Regions from separate parts of the Homo sapiens genome. Here region 1 is linked to region 2. The links are contacts of gene promoters, found by promoter capture Hi-C in blood cells and fetal thymus (Javierre and others, 2016). All regions are on one chromosome and are shown on one strand. Each heading gives the region's core, a stretch centred on a gene start or on the middle of the fragment in contact. The rest is flanking DNA. Distances are from core to core; before and after follow the strand shown.

Region 1 (3,641 bases), core at 1,115-3,614, 270 kb before region 2:
TGGGTGATAGAGCGAGACTCTGTCTCCAAAGAAGAAACAAAGGAAAGAAAGAGAGAAAGAGAGAGGGAGGGAGGGAGGGAGGGAAAGGAAGGATGGAAAGAAAGGAAGAAAGGCAGGCAAAAGCCCCAGACAGGCCAAAACCTTCATCCTTCATGCACCCAACCTGTACCAAACACCAGCATGGCCTGGCTGTGAGTGCACAGCAGATGGAGGTTTGCTGGGCAGAGACACTGGGCTGGCCTAGACACTGCCTTTGGTGATACCCTAAACCAAAGGGGCCAGTCCCACAGTAAGAAGGAGACCACTACTACTCCTGCTGCCCTCCTCCCCCCACCTTGCCTAGTTTACAAGACAGGAGGAAAGAGAGAAAGCAAAAAGTTAGAAAACAAAACAAAACAGAAGTAAGATAAATAGCCAGAAGACCTTGGCGACACCACCCGGCCCTGGTAGTTAAAAAAAAGTAACAATAATAATAATATCAACCCCTGACCTAAACTACTTGTGTTATCTGTAAATTCCAGACATTGTATGAAAAAGCATTGCAAAACTTTCTGCTCTGTTAGCTGATGCGTGTAGCCCCCAGTCACGTTCCCCGCTTGCTTGAGATATCATGACCCTTTCACGTGGACCCCTTAGAGTTGTAAGCCTTTAAAAAGGCCAAGAATTTCTTTTTCAGGGATCTCAGCTATTAAGATGCAAGTCTGCCAATGCTCCTGGCCAAATAAACCTCTTCCTTCTTTAATCCGGTGCCTGAGGAGTTTTGTCTGTGGCTCGTCCTGCTACAAGAGGACACAGCCCAGAGGTGCCACCTGCAGCTGCCCTGTCCCCTCTAATCCCAGCTCCACCCTGCCTGCTCCCGTCCTTCCTCCAGGGGGAACATGGACACGCTCAGATGAACCCCAGCTTCTTATGCCTGAACTGGGGAAACTGAAGCCCCATGGGACCAGGGGTTCCACTGGGCATCAAGGGAGGAAAGTTGAGCCCCGGGGTGATCTGGGAACTGGGATCTGGGATCTGGGCAGGCATTGGGGCCTGACAGAGCAGAAGTGAGGAGAGGGTACCAGGAGCTGCAAACTCGGTGCCTCCAGGACCTATTCGGATAAAATAAATGGGTGGAACTGGAATAAGACAAAGTGGGGGTGCGCTGTGGCCAACTGGAAAATGCTCGTTGCAGCCACAGCGTTCCATTAAAAAAGCGAAAGGAACCTGCCTGCCTGAGTCTTAAGCTCCCCCTAAACCCAGAAATGGGTTAGCCCTCCAGTATCCTCCAGCTCTGAGAGCTGGGGCGGGCACTCCATTACTGGGGGAACAGGAAATGGATCCTGGGCACTCTAGGGCAACACACGCCCTCCTTGCAGGGAAATGGATTTCCAGGCAGGGGAGATGCATGGGCAGAGGTGGCTTGGATTGTTTGCTGTAAGATTTGAAGCTGTGATCAGGAGGTGGCTAGGAGATGGGCTGGGTCCAGACCACAAAATGGTAGATCGGAGGATTTGGACTCTGTCTCATGAGTGAGCTGGAAATCAAGCTGGAAAATCAGATAAGCTTATTCGCAGCTTCAATCCAGTCCGTTGCAGAAGGATGCATTTGAGGGGGCTAGAGCAGCTGCAGGGAGGCCAGGAGGAGCTGTGGAAGAGGACTTGAGTGTGGGTCATGGCCATGGGGTTTGGAGAGAAGTGATACAGTGTCTTCAGAGCTTCAGAAGGCAGAGGGAGTTCGATGGCTCAAGGCAGTTGGAAGAGTTGGGTGTGACTGAGGGGGTGGGGAAATGGGGCATGCGTGGCAGGCAAGGACTCTTATGCATCACCTCCCAGTCCCTTGTCCATCTGGCTACACTTCCTCTTTGCCTGGCCAGCCTAGGACCAAGCTGGGATCATTTCCCCAGGATGCCCCACAGACAATGGCAAATGTGCCCATCATAGCAGTTTGTTTAATGAAAATGATATGCTGTTGTGAGTACGGGATGTGCCAGCAATGCTGGCTACTGCATGAGACGGGAGCTAGCAGGGAGCACCTTCATCCAGGGTGTGCAGGTCCCCTTCCCTCAGTTAATGCTCGTGGGGGCGGGCGTTAGCCTCTCCACTTACCGAAGAGGAGACTGAGGCTTTATAAAGTTAAGAGAGCTGCTTAGGGTCACTCATCAATAAAGTGGTGGAGGCCAGTCATGGTGGCTCACACCTGTAATCTCAGCACTTTGGGAGGCTGAGGCAGGAGGATCACTTGAGCCCAGGAGTTCAAGACCAGCCTGGGCAACATAGTGAGACTCAATTTCTATTTTTAAAAAATTATCCAGCTGTGGTGGTGCACACCTGTAGTCCCAGCTACTCAGGAGACTGGGGTGAGAGGATCGCTTAAGCCTGGGCAGTTGAGGCTGCAGTGAGCTGTGACTGCACCACTGCACTCCAGCCTGGGTGACAGAGGCCCTGTCTCAAACAAAAATAAATAAATAAATAAATATATAAAGTGGTGGAGCAGTTTGAATTGTGTCATTCACTCATTCAATATTTAACTGAGCATCTACTGTGTGCCAGGCACTATTCTAGACAATGAACATACAACGAGTAAACAGATAAAAATCTCTGTCCTCAGGGAGTCTGTATGTTGGGGTTGGGGTGGGGGCGGGGAAGAATAGACAATGAAAAAATACTTAAGGAAAATATGTAGACACCAATTGTCCTGATGGCCACCCCTGATGGCCACCAGAGGGCACTGCAACCACGCGGCCCTCCGTTCGTCTCTAATTCCAGCTCCCTTTCCGGATTCCGAAGGCAATAGCCAAGGAGGCTATGAATACGCAGCATAGCATCTGCTCAAGAATCAACGCGAGGAGGCATTGGCAGCAGTTTTTTCTCCACCCACTTTTCCAGCCTCATCCCCTCATCAGACCCCCATCCAACTGCCCAGGGTACCCCTGTGACTTTTCAAAGCCCCGTGTACTCCAGATTCACCAGCTACTCACATTCACTCCCAGCCACCCATCCCCTCCCAAATACTGTCTGGGTTACCCACCAACCCCATCCATCCGCTCACCTGATGCCTGTCCTCCTCCTCACCCACCCACCCGCGCCCCTCGCCCCTTCCACCTGCTGTCCTGCCCACCGGAAACTGGCCAAATTGTCCCATAGATTTTTTTTTTTTTTTTTTTTTTTTTGGATAAACACAGAAATTGACATTCCTGGTCTTAAAGCTTGAAACTTAAATTTGCCTTATCTGAGTTCCTTCCCCAGGAAACTGACCCTCAGGCCTCCCAGATAGCATCAAGGAACTGAAACTCCTTTTCTTTACCCCCCTCTAATTCCTGTTTTCCCACCCACAGCTACATTTGCTCCCCACTATATAAACCCCCAATTGGAGTTTGTTGGAGAGATGGATTTGAGACTTATCTCCTGTCTCCTTGGCAGATGTCATCTGAATAAAGCCTTCTTTCCTGGCGATACTCATTGTCCCGGGATCCCAGATCAGCTTTCTGTGCAGTAAGCAATGGGACCTAGACTGAATCCCTGGCGTTTCGGTAATACACCCATCCATCCTGTCCACCCCCACCCATCCTGTCCACCCCCATCTATCCTGTCCACCCCCGACCCATCCTGTCCACCCCCGACCCATCCTATCCACCCCCTTGTGCTTCCATCCACTCATCA
Region 2 (3,460 bases), core at 18-2,517:
TTACTATGGGAAAAGTGGAAATAGTTGAGGCCCAGGGAACTGATCAGGCCAGAGGAAGTGGAAGCTCAAGATCAACTGTGCTTATTTTGCTGATGGCTGGGCCTAAATGCCCCAACCACCTACTTGGGACAGGAAATGACAGGACCCTCTCAACCTTGGACTGGGAAAGGAGGGCTTCCTGGCCCCTGACAGACCCTGGGGTCCTGAGGCTACCTTAGTTGGGATTAAATGCCCGTATTGGTCTCTAGCTGTCACTCCCTCTGCTCCTTCCTCAATTTCTGCACACATCTCAGAGCTTCCTCTAGCAGCTCTTCGACCTGTTTTGTTGTTTTATTTTCTTTCTCCCCAGGTGTGAATCAACTTCTTGGGCCTTGGCTCTGAGTTGGAAAAGGTTTTAGAAAAAGTGAAGAGCTGGAATGTGGGGGAAAATAAAAAGCTTTTTTGCCCAGTGGCGTGTATGGTGTTTATTGGGGGTTGGATTGAGGTGGGGATTTTAGGGTAGGCAGGCTTAGAAGTTTTGGGGGACTCTTTCCTGTTGACTCTCTAGTTTGGACACAGGTTGGCATAGGGCATAGGTTACTTGAGCTCTCCCCATGGTTGACTTGGCTTTGGTAAACACCTGTCTTGTTTTCTTCTACGAAATAAAATGGATAATTACAGTTAGTTGGGCGGGTGGGGTGTCAGGTCATGGAAATGCTGTGACATAAATGCACTGTGACCTTGGCAAGTCTTGCAACCTGCAGCGCCTCAATTTCCGTAAGAGATTTGACCGATTGAGTTTTCCCAGCGTCGACGCGCAAAGATTCCTCGCACTTGGAGGCCCTTTTCCAGGTTAGATGGTTGCTAACCTCGGAGCAGTCTATTTTCCCGCCTTTTCCGCGCCCAGCAGCAGCTTCCTTTGCCCCTCCCAACTTCCACCCTGCGCGCAGTCGCAGATCGCCGCTGCTGTCCGTCCACCCGCGCCCCCTCAAAGCTTCCCCTAGCAACAAGCTCGGGCTCAGAGCGAAGGCGGGGCGAGCGCATGCGCTGCAGCTCTGTCCACCGCCAGTCGTGGGACAGAGTGCCGGGCTCCTCCCCTTGCAAGTCTAGCTCTTCTCCCCGCCTCCTCCGGCCTGGGGTCCGCGTGGCGGGGCGGGCGCGCACTCGGGCTTGGCGGCTGCCGGTCTCCCAGGCCGCGGCAGTGAGGAGAGAGGGCGGGGCTGAGTCCTCTGCGCCCCCGCCCCCTTTAGCCCGGCGTCCCTACCGCGCCTGCGCGCTCCCGCCCGGTCTCCATCTTGGAATTGGGAGGAAGAGGGAGAGGGAGACCGGGACGAGACCGGGGCTGTGGTGCGGAGAGAGGCTGAGACGGAGAAGAGGAGAGGCAGAGAGGGCGCGGGGACCGTCAGCAGCACCTTAGCTACAATCGTTCAGCTATTCTCGGAAGAGAGAAGGGAGAGGGAGGAGGCCGGGGCGGGAGTGGGGGCTGTCACCCTCGGACCCCGGCGTGAGAGGGGCCGTGCGGCCGGACGTCCTCGGGGTGGGCCCCCAGTCGGTGGCCGAAGACCTACAGCTCAGGCCCCTGGGTCCCAAATTTCCAGGCTTTGCCCCTCCTCCTTTCTCAGATACCCGGGTAACAGTCCTCATAGTCCAGATATCCGGGACTCGGGTCCCAACCTCTCTAAACCTGGGTCTCTGTTTCATAGAATTTCAAATATCAGGTTCAGGCCCCTGCGTGCACCAGTATCCGGGGTTCATTCCCCGGGCGTTCAAATATCGGATTCAGTCTCCATCCCGTTCAGATATTCGGGGTTCAGACCCCACAATCAGAAATCCGGAATTCGGCAGCTGTCGCCCTCGACGAGGGGGAGGACTGGACCGCGAGGTCAGATTAGGTTGTCACCCCCTCCCCTCCAGGGGAGGCTTCCCGGGCCCGCCCCTCAGGAAGGGCGAAAGCCGAGGAAGAGGTGGCAAGGGGAAAGGTCTCCTTGCCCCTCTCCCTGCTTGGCAGAGCCGCTGGAGGACCCCAGGCGGAAGCGGAGGCGCTGGGGCACCATAGTGACCCCTACCAGGTGAGACACGGGGTGCAGGGGCGCGGGTCCCTGTGTCTAGTTCTGAGAAGAAAGGGTGCGCCTTTCTGAGAAGCTGGACTTGGGTAGGCCCTCTCAGGATGGGGAAGCCCAGCTGAGCGAGTGGTCAGCCTCTGGCTAGCCTTGCCTTCTGTTGCCACCCCCTTCCCCTTCCTCTTCCCTTCATTGTGTCTGGTTGGTGGGGGACCTCAGGTGACAGGGTCTCTGATGTCACCGGCGTTCACACCCTAGGGTGCTTCAGCTAATCAGATGGATTTGCACTTCAGTCTTCTCTCCTTCACTTTGCCCCTCACAGCCACCTCTCCTCCCTGATATGTCCCGTTCTCCTGGCTATTCTGTGGTTTTGATTCCCATGCCTCTGATTCCCATGGTGGGTCTGCTTATCTGCTTTTCAGGCCTGGTCTGGTTGGATTTCTTGTCCTTGCAAGGAAGTGTGTGTATATGTGTTTGTGTGTATGCGTGTGTGTGTGTGCTTGGAGGTGCCTGGCAATGTTTTCCCCCAGCTGCAGTTACCTTCCAACCTCTTGCTGTGATGGTGTCAATAATCTCATCCATTTGTCAAACGATCTGTCTTTTACAAAGTGCTTTGACAGCCATTCTCTCATGTGACATCCCCGCATTCACCCTGTGGGGGCCTCTTTTATTGGCATCTTCCCATTTTACAGTTGAGAACGTTGAGGCCGAGAGAGGTTGCCCAAGGTCACACAGTGGCAGAACCAGAATTTGAACTCAAGTCCTCAATCACATCTTTCCCTGATGCATGCCTGGTTCTTGCCATCTCTTTTCCTCTGAGTTTGGGCTCGGCCAGGGGTCCCTAGGAGTCCAGGCTGGGGTGAGGTTTAAGAATGGGGATGAGATGAGCTTCCTTTCCAGGAGGGCTCTACTCAGAAGCTTTTCCTGATGGGAGCCTCTGGCTTTTGCCTCTGCCTCATGGAGTTTTCTATCCACTGTGACCTTCATCTTTACCCCAATCCCAGGGTTTGGCCTGGATTCCTGAGAGGGCTCTCTCCTGACAAATGGTAGCACTAGTGGCATCTTTTAACTGTTCAAGCCAAGCTGTTGGGGTAGAATGATCCCCCAAAGGATTAAAGCTTTGTGGGGACCTTGGAGGCAGGGAAGGAAAAATCCATATGCTGAGTGTCTGCATGGTGTTCCTAAGTATGAGATCTCATTAAAATCTTAACAACAGCTCCATGCTGTAATCCATTTCACTGAAGAGAAGACCAAGAACTGGAAGGAACTTATTTAAAGCCCTGTTGCTGTACATTGCAGACGGGATGTACTGGTAGCATAGCTTAGGAACAGATAGATACGGGTTTCCTCATCTGTAGAATGGAGATAACATTGTTCGTTTTGGAAGGTGGTTATGATTTAGCACAGACCTTGGTTATTGT

Evidence for each region. Contacts are between HindIII fragments. The CHiCAGO score rates a contact against its expected background, and 5 or more counts as called.
Region 1: a fragment that was not itself captured here is called in contact with the fragment with the promoter of TAOK2 in region 2 in 13 of 17 cell types (total CD8 T cells, activated CD4 T cells, M0 macrophages and 10 more); the score reaches 13.2 in total CD8 T cells.

The regions. Positions count from the first base shown.
Region 1 is chr16:29,697,958-29,701,598 of GRCh38, forward strand. QPRT (quinolinate phosphoribosyltransferase) reads left to right here. Exons shown (of 4, transcript NM_014298.6): 4 at 1-742. Among named protein-coding and RNA genes, the nearest start is that of QPRT, 21 kb to the left of the region's middle. RefSeq lists a silencer at 1,496-1,670 and a cis regulatory region at 2,441-3,043. The HindIII fragment of the contact is 1,642 bases long and covers 1,544-3,185 here.
Region 2 is chr16:29,972,601-29,976,060 of GRCh38, forward strand. TAOK2 (TAO kinase 2) reads left to right here and starts at 1,268. Exons shown (of 16, transcript NM_016151.4): 1 at 1,268-2,048. It overlaps TMEM219 (transmembrane protein 219), which reads left to right. Exons shown (of 6, transcript NM_001083613.2): 6 at 350-448. LOC124903762 reads left to right here and starts at 1,022. Exons shown (of 2, transcript XM_047435036.1): 1 at 1,022-1,180; 2 at 1,397-2,035. The coding sequence starts at 1,022. The coding sequence ends at 2,035. RefSeq lists a silencer at 958-1,327 and enhancers at 1,751-2,522, 2,229-2,358, 3,160-3,460. The HindIII fragment of the contact is 1,984 bases long and covers 972-2,955 here.